Linked DNA regions of Homo sapiens: regions 1 and 3 are each linked to region 2. Evidence: promoter capture Hi-C in 16 types of primary human blood cells and fetal thymus (Javierre and others, 2016). All regions are on one chromosome and are shown on one strand. The core of a region is centred on a gene start or on the middle of the fragment in contact, and the rest is flanking DNA. Distances in the headings are between cores, read along the strand shown. Region 1 overlaps CCDC186 (coiled-coil domain containing 186). Region 2 holds the start of PLEKHS1 (pleckstrin homology domain containing S1). Region 3 has its middle 61 kb from the start of MIR2110.

Region 1 (2,700 bases), core at 106-2,605, 390 kb before region 2:
TGACCTACTAATCAGCACATGTGTGAGGGAACTGCCAAGGCAGAGAAAGAATTTTCAGAAAGGAGGAGGATGACAGTCTCTGGAGCTCAACACGGCTAAGCCATCTAAATTTTCTCTTTACTTTGAGTTACAGAATGAGGAATTGAAATTCCAAATTCATAAAAACAGTAATGATTCTCAACTACCTGAGTTGCTTCAAGATCAGAACATCATACTTGGTCATGTCTGATATCTGTGGTACTTTCCTCATCTTCATCCAGAGTGCTAAGAGACAGGCTCCTGAAACCTGTTAGAATACTAGCACTTAGGAACAAAAGAACTGTTACAGATCTGTGTAAGAGATCTTAATGGCAGCTTTGAGCTCAGATGAAACCAGGTAGTCTGTAAATAGGTTAGAGAGGTGATTTAAGGCTGACTTCTGTAAGGTTACATGGTGCAGATTGCTAGAAAATGAACAAGCATATTGACTTGGTATGTAGAAATTCACTAGTTCTTTTTAACTAAAGGCATTTATTAACCAGCAAGCTTTGTGCATAACACTGTATTAGATAACTTGGAGGCTATAAAAGCCTTAGGAGACACAGTCGTTACTTTCAAAGAGTGTCCAAGATGGGCTCCCGGTTACTTGTTTTATGTATTTACCTATTGGATGTTGGAAGGAGTCCCTGGATCAAAGGATACAAGATTTAATAATCATGTGGTTATTATAGTCTACCTCTTGAGATGTGGGCAAGAGACACGAGACACTTAGTAAATTTTTCTTGAGGCACCCTTTCTGGTTTCTGGTTCCTGCCCACCAAGTCTTAGGTACTAATAATACTGCAGTCCTGTAGCTTACTGGATCCATTGTGATCAGTAGCTTCTGGTCAGACCCCCAGTGCATATTACCAGAACTTAAGAGTAGGTGGGCTGGCTACCCAGATCATCAGACTACCCAAGAGAAACAATTTGTTTCCTTCCCTAAACTCCTTTGGGATTTAACTGAAAATGTGTTTTAAACACCTAGCCTGTAAAAACAGAAGCCTTTTATTTGGAGTACAGTAAATAAAGATGAATTTCCCCCAGTGTACCTCATCTACTTGTTTGCCTACCTGGTTGCTACTTATTCACCTACCTGATATCAGGATGAGATAATCTCACTGAACGTATATACGGCTAGCAATAGATGTGGCTGTGGTTCTTTGGCTGCCATGGTTTGACTATGCTGGGTGCTTGCCAGACATAACTGCTTCAGAGAAAGCTAGAAGAATATTCTTGGACCCAGAAGCTAGACCAGCAGGAGGTTGTAGATGGTAATATAGTACAGGCCTAATGTGTGACAAGGGCTTGGTGTATTTTATGATATGTTCTGTACACTAGGTCACCCGAGGTAAGACTGTTGCTTAATAAGCTCTTCTCCCGAGGCTGTCGTGTTGTCAGTGATAGTGTCATTCTTAAATGGTTTGTTTACTCAGAAGGCCCAGTCATTAGAAGCCAGAATGGGCTTCTTATTTGCTTTGCCATTTTATCTCACTTAATAAAACTATATTCTATGTTCTATAACTGTAGTGTTCTATAACTGTATTCTATTGACTATATTGTATTATGGAATAACAAGGTCCAAATTTACCCTTCTACCTTAAAAAACAAAAGACAAAATATATGAAATGAAGGCTTTCAGACTTGAGACAACAGGCAGCATAGGACAGTGATCTCTGAGTGAAGGGAAACAAATGAGGTATTCCTGGAGAGTTCCAGTCTGCAGAACAAGAAGAACCTGGACAGCCCAGCAGTCTACCTGAATTGAGGAGATAGAGTTCAAAATATGGGGAACCAAGGCAGAGTCCCAGAAAAGAGAAAAATACAACAATGTGCAGTGAGTTCCCTTCAAGTCTTCAGCTGACTACTGATCAGTACATGTGTGCGTGCGTGCGTGTATGTGTGTGCGTGCGTGTGTGTGTGTGTGTTAAGAGAGGAAACTACAGAGGAGGGGGAAGAAATAGGGGCAACAATCCCTAGAGCTCCCACAAGGCTAGGAAATTGTTCATGTTTCCATCAGTCAAAGAGAAATGACCTCTCAACACACATCAGGCAGGGCTGCATCAAGCAGCCCCCAGAAGGTTATTGCTTTAGTTGTGAGGATGAATTTGCCTTAGATTAAGTCTGTTATAAATCTGCCTTAACAAAACTTTAAAAGCAAGCTTCAAATAATTTGTTTCAAGTAAATTTACTATGTCCCAAAACAAAGGCCCAAAATATTTAAATGACTACGAAGAACTCTGGCACCTAAAAGCATAAATTTACTGTGTTTGGCATCCAGTCAAAAATTACCAGGCATGCAAAGAGGCAGGAAAATGGAGCCCATCATGAGAAGGAAGGAACACTAGATCAGTAGGAACAGATCCAGGCACGGTGTCTCACACCTGTAATTCTAGCACTTGGGGAGGCTGAGGTGGGAGGATTGCTTGAGGTCAGGAGTTTGAGACCAGCCTGGGCAACATAGCGAGGTCCCCATCTCTACACAAAGAACTTTAAAAATTAGCCAGGTGTGGTGGTGTATGCCTGTAGTCCTAGCCACTTGGGAGGCTGAGATGGGAGGATCACTTGAGCCCAGGAGTTGAAGCTATGATCATGCCACTGCACTCCAGCCTGGGCAACACAGCAAGATCCTGTCCTGTGTCTTAAAAAAAAAAAAGATTCAGAAATGACATAAATAATAGA
Region 2 (2,700 bases), core at 102-2,601:
AAATGCATTTGCATACATTATTTTTTTGTGTTCAGAATGGCTTCATTCTGAGATAGCTCATTTTACAAATGAAAAGCTGCATTTGAGAGAAGACTGAGATGACTTGGACCTAGGTCCCCTGGCAGAACTCCACACAGCACCACATTCATGCTCATGGACACTCCCAAATAACATTTGCCCTCCCTGTGCCCTGTGGATGTCAAAGTGTGCTTTGGAGGACATCTCTGTCCTTCCAGTGTCTGCAAAGGGCTCCAGAGTCATGTGCTGCAACCATTCCTCCTTCATCTCCCCACCCACCGTAAAATGAGAGGACAGATAAGGCAGTAGGGTGTGGTGGTTTAGAGTGTTAGCTCTGGCATCTGGGTTTAAATTTCATCTCCATGAATTATGAGGAATGTGATCTTGGATACTTTATAATACTTCTCTACACCTCCATTTCTTCATCTGTAACATGAAGGTTATTACTACCCTCATCAGATTGCTGGGAGTATCACTTGAGATACCCTGTTGATGAGCACTCCTCAGTACATAATAGAAGCTCAATAAATGCTAGTTGTTAGGTCCTTTCCAGCTCAGATATTCTATGATTCTATGGTTGTTTAATAATGGGTAGCATTTTTTGAGTACTTAATACATTCCAGGCACTTCTAAGCAATATGTATATGAAAGATTTTATGTATATGTATACATATAATTTCACATATACATATAAAATCTCATCCTAACCTCATAACCGTACTCTAAAGCTTGCACTGTTTTCACAATGATACAATGCCCATTTACAGACGAGGAAATGGTTATCGGAGAGATTAAACAACTTTACTTTGATCATGTAATTAAAAAGAAGCAGAACCAGAATTCTAGCTTGAGAGCTGGCCTTAACTACTTTGCTTTTCCTCCTATCTAAGAAAGTAGAATTAAGTCTTTTCATAGTTCTGCTTGTTTTTCTTGTCATTGCCCCCAAACAAAAAAGAAAGCCTTTCTGATTTAGCTGTTTGATCTCATTCAGGAGAATCTCCCCACAGTCACTGCCTGACCCATTTATTATAACATTATTTTGGATTTGGTGAATACAGTATACCAAGAGGTCAGTCCTATTTCCCTCTGACTATAGTATAGCCTAGGAAGCTTATGAAGAAAGTGCCCATAACAGAAATACAGCATATCTGCAAAATTTTCCATTTCCAATTTTGCAATTGTTCAATTGCAAAAAAGCTTCTAGATCATCCCAGCCTTGGAAGTCCAAACCAGATACACCAAGCAGTACTTACTGGAAGCCAAGAGGTCGCTGGTCCAGTGCTCAGGAAAGTGCCTTGTCCCGAGGATTCCTGAACTCACTCCTGCTGACTCTGAGCCTTGGTGCCTGGGTGAGGATTAAGCACAAACTCTGCTTGAAATCTGAACCACCAGGAAGTTCCCAAACTAATATCCTTGAGCAGATTTTATTCTTGCCCCAAACTGAAATGGAAGCTATGCCCTCAGGGGAAGTTCTGGGCCTTCATACTTGTGGCTTGCCACAGAACTCTCCTTGGTGTCCCAGCTGCCTAGCACCAAAAATGAAAGCAAACACATTAATAATAAAAAAAAATTCCTGCCAGACTTTGGACCATGGTCACAATAACCCTTATTGAGAACAACGCCAATTTACCCTCAACCGTCTGTGGTGACTACCATTGAAAAAAAATCCCTATGCCTCCCTCAGCCATATCTTAACCAATGTCTTCCTGGGAAGGGTAGAAAGGGTTCCTTTGTACCAGATGAGGAAACAAAAGCCTGGCTTCTCTAAACACTTGTACATGCCAATGGTTTCCAGGAAGAGTTGCTCATTCAGCCATGACAGAGTGTTACCATCAACAGGGTGGCGCTAGGCATGTTCCCCTGCACAGCCACCAACAGCAATTGAGCAAACCATCATTCTTAGACCTGGTGAGTGGTATCCAGCCACCAAAGGGTCTTAGGTATATTTTCATGTGTATTACAGATTTCTAGGGGAGAGGAAGAAGTGATGATGAATTTTATCCTGTTCTACTGCCTTTAGAAGTAAAAGTACATCATTTGAATCCTCATCCTCACGAGGGTAGCTGGTCTGGAATCAGCTCTGCCATGGATCCATTGTGTGGTCTTGGCAAGTTAACTGGAGTTCTCTGAGTCTGTTTCCTCATCTGCAAAATGGAACAGATAATACTGACTTCACAGGATTTTTTTTTAAAGTTAAGTAAAATTTCACATATAAAAAGCATCTAGCACAGTGCTTTATCCACAGTTAGCATTCAACAGAGGGTATTTCTTTGTTTTTCTCTTTTGCATCCTATGGAGGGTAGATGTTATTGGTTTCTTCATTTAGCAAACCTAGCTGGACTTCAGGCATACAGAAATTATTGATATATTGTTTGCTTCCTGCACAGGACCAGTTTTGCTTGATTTAGGAAAAACAATTTCTTAATTTTGATATAGTTTGGATGTCCCCTCCAAATCTCATGTTGAGATGTAATCCCCAGTGATGGAGGTGGAGTCTGGCTGGAGGTGTTGGGTCCTGGGGGTGGATCCCTCATGGCTTGGTTCTGTGTCTGAGATAGTGAGTTGTACTGAGGTCTTTATTTAAAAGTGTGTGGCATCTCCCCCAACTCTACTGCTCCCACTCCCACCAGGTGACATGGCTACTCCCGCCTCACCTTCCACCATGCGTAAAAGAAAGCCCCC
Region 3 (2,700 bases), core at 90-2,589, 360 kb before region 2:
TTAAAGAAGATGCCCATGCATAAGAGCGTGTGATCTAGTAAACTCTTTGTTGGAGACTTGGTGCCTCTATTTTCACCTTTTGATTGTCTTTTGACTTAGCTTTTCCTCTAACCACAGTCAAAGAAGGGAAATAAAAACAATCATTTTGTTTCCTCTTAAACTGTAAAGGTGTTTGGAGGGGGAATCATAGGTAATAAATCACATCATAATTTTCTTGACAGTCTGGACAGTGAATAGGTGTTCCTTAAGCTTTTTTTTTTTTTTTTTTTTTTTTTTGATACAGGGTCTCACTCTGTTACCCAGGCTGGAGAACAGTGGCATAGTCAGGGCTCACTGCAGGTTCAACTTACCAGGCTCAGGTGATTCTCCTCTCTCAGCCTCCCAGTAGCTGGGATTATAGGCATGTGTCACTACGCCCAGCTAATTTTTTTGTATTTTTCGTAGAGACAGAGTTTCTCTATGTTGCCCAGGCTGGTCTCGAACTCCTGGGCTCAAGCTATCCACCTGCCTCGGCCTCCCAAAGTGCTGGGATTACAGACGTGAGCAATCGTGCCAGCCAGGTGTTCCTTAAGCTTTTAAATTACCTGTACACATAACTTCCCGTGCACTGCCTTGTGGATGACTGTAACAGAGACTCCCTTTCCTGCCCATCTCCTTCAGAGCCAACTAGAGGAGGCAACAGAGGACTGTAAGGGTCCCTGGACTTGGACTTGGAAGACCCTACCTTGCCACTTTTTGTGAAACCTTTTACAAATCACCCACCTCATTGAGCTTCAGTTTTCTCATCTGTAAAAGGGGATGAGAAAGCTCACCTTGCAGAGCCATTCTGTGGAGTGAACAGGATAATGCATGGGAAAGAACTTTGAAAACTGCAAAGCTCTGCGACATGGACATATTATTAAGCTAAATCTTCAAAAATAGAGGTCTAATTTCTGTTTCTAAAAAAATAATTATTAAAAAAAGTTGAAGGATGCATATATATGTGTACTGTAAAAATTGTTGCTTTAATAGCATAAACTTTGCAACAAAGGGAAAAAATACCTTTAAATATGCATTCATGTGTATATGCAAAGAAAAAGTTCTGAATGGATACATACCAGACTCCACAGTGGTTTCTCCTGAAAATCACATTATAGAGTGGTGGACTTTCTATTTGAATTTATATTTTTCTGTTACTGGAAGTTTTTCAGCGAGTATGTACTACTTTTGCTATAGTTAACTTTAAAAATTATTATTCTAAGAATCATATCCTGATTTTTAGAGGGCTATATGCCTGACCCTCTAGCAAGGTAAAAGGGGGAGAGTGTGGAGATAGTATGTGTATGTATATATTTATTGTCTAGAAAGATCCTATTGTTCAATTTTCTGATTTCTTTGGAACAGACTGAGTTTGGGAAGAGGTGGGAGAAGGTGATGTGTGTTGCTGAAAGAGAGCCACGCTCTTTTGAGCAGCATCAACTGAGATCTATAATCCAATTCCAGTTTCAGACCTTGGTTTGACTTTTCAACAGCTACCGAGAAACACTTGGAGCCTAATCCCATTTCTACAAGTGGATTGGTAGGTGTAGCCACTGCATTTGGAGAATAAGTACAATGGAAGAATGGAAGAATGCTGTGTGCGTGTTCTACTCATTCTCAACCCAGCCCCTTCCTCTTGTGCACAACCACACAAAGTCAGCAGGGGAAGTGTTCAGATGGCTGGAGCTTTTAAATTCATAATTGTCTGACATTCTCACACAGCTTCTGTCCTGAGGGCCTGGTTCTATCATATACATTGTGTGTGTGTGTGTGTGTGTGTGTGTGTGTGTGTGTGTGTGTGTGTGTCGGGGGGGGGCAGTTACCTTTTTGTAGGAATGGGGAAGAAAAGAGAAAAAGCCCCGTAAGGATTGGGATGTTTACTAATTCCAACAAAAGGGAGGTGTTCGCATGAATCGCATCTCGAACCTCCCTTGGAGGGAGGTCTAGATGTTTCATTTCCAGCCACCCTTTGTGTGGGACACAGAGATGGTGCTGATGAAGATGAGCAGCCAGACAAGCAGCGGCGTCTCCATACCTGTCACCCCGCCACATGCTTCGCTCTCATTCTCTTAAATGTAATAAAGCTTTCCCCTCAATACTTTGCTGAGGTTCTGTGGTGCTTCCAAAGCAACACATATAACTTAAGCACTGCTCCTAACTCAAATGATGTGTGTTTTGATGGACTCATTGCTGCCACTTGGACTCAGCCATTATGCTAAGCAAGAAACATGTGCTAGGCCAGGAGCGGTGGGTCACGCCTGTAATCTCAGCATTTTGGGAGGCCAAGGCAGGTGGATCACCTGAGGTCAGGAGTTCAAGATTAGCTTGGCCAACATAGTGAAACCCTGTCTCTACTGAAAATATAAAAATTTGCTGGGTATCGTGGCGGGAGCCTGTAATCCCAGCTACTTGGAAGGCTGAAGCACGAGAATCGCTTAAACCTGGGAGACGGAGGTTGCAGTGAGTAGAGATTACACCACTGCACTCCACCCTGGGCAACAGATCGAGACTCCTCAAAAAAATAAAATTGGCCGGGTGTTGTAGCTCACGCCTGTAATCCCAGCACTTTTGGGAGGCCAAGGTGGGCAGATCACTTGAGGTCAGGTATTCGAGCCCAGCCTGGCCAACATGGTGAAACCCCATCTCTATTAAAAATATTAAAAATTAGCTGGGTGTGGTGGT

What was found. Contacts are between HindIII fragments. The CHiCAGO score rates a contact against its expected background, and 5 or more counts as called.
Region 1: a fragment that was not itself captured here is called in contact with the fragment with the promoter of PLEKHS1 in region 2 in 1 of 17 cell types (M2 macrophages); the score reaches 5.5 in M2 macrophages.
Region 3: a contact is called between a fragment that was not itself captured here and the fragment with the promoter of PLEKHS1 in region 2, in 4 of 17 cell types (endothelial precursors, erythroblasts, megakaryocytes and 1 more). The highest score is 6.8, in endothelial precursors.

Annotation. Positions count from the first base shown.
Region 1 is chr10:114,140,875-114,143,574 of GRCh38, reverse strand. All of the region lies in intron 6 of CCDC186 (coiled-coil domain containing 186), which reads left to right. Among named protein-coding and RNA genes, the nearest start is that of MIR2110, 32 kb to the left of the region's middle. The HindIII fragment of the contact is 1,655 bases long and covers 528-2,182 here.
Region 2 is chr10:113,750,333-113,753,032 of GRCh38, reverse strand. It overlaps PLEKHS1 (pleckstrin homology domain containing S1), which reads right to left and starts at 1,351. Exons shown (of 13, transcript NM_001395068.1): 1 at 1,272-1,351. The HindIII fragment of the contact is 1,743 bases long and covers 1,218-2,700 here.
Region 3 is chr10:114,111,833-114,114,532 of GRCh38, reverse strand. No RefSeq gene overlaps it. Among named protein-coding and RNA genes, the nearest start is that of MIR2110, 61 kb to the left of the region's middle. The HindIII fragment of the contact is 1,530 bases long and covers 575-2,104 here.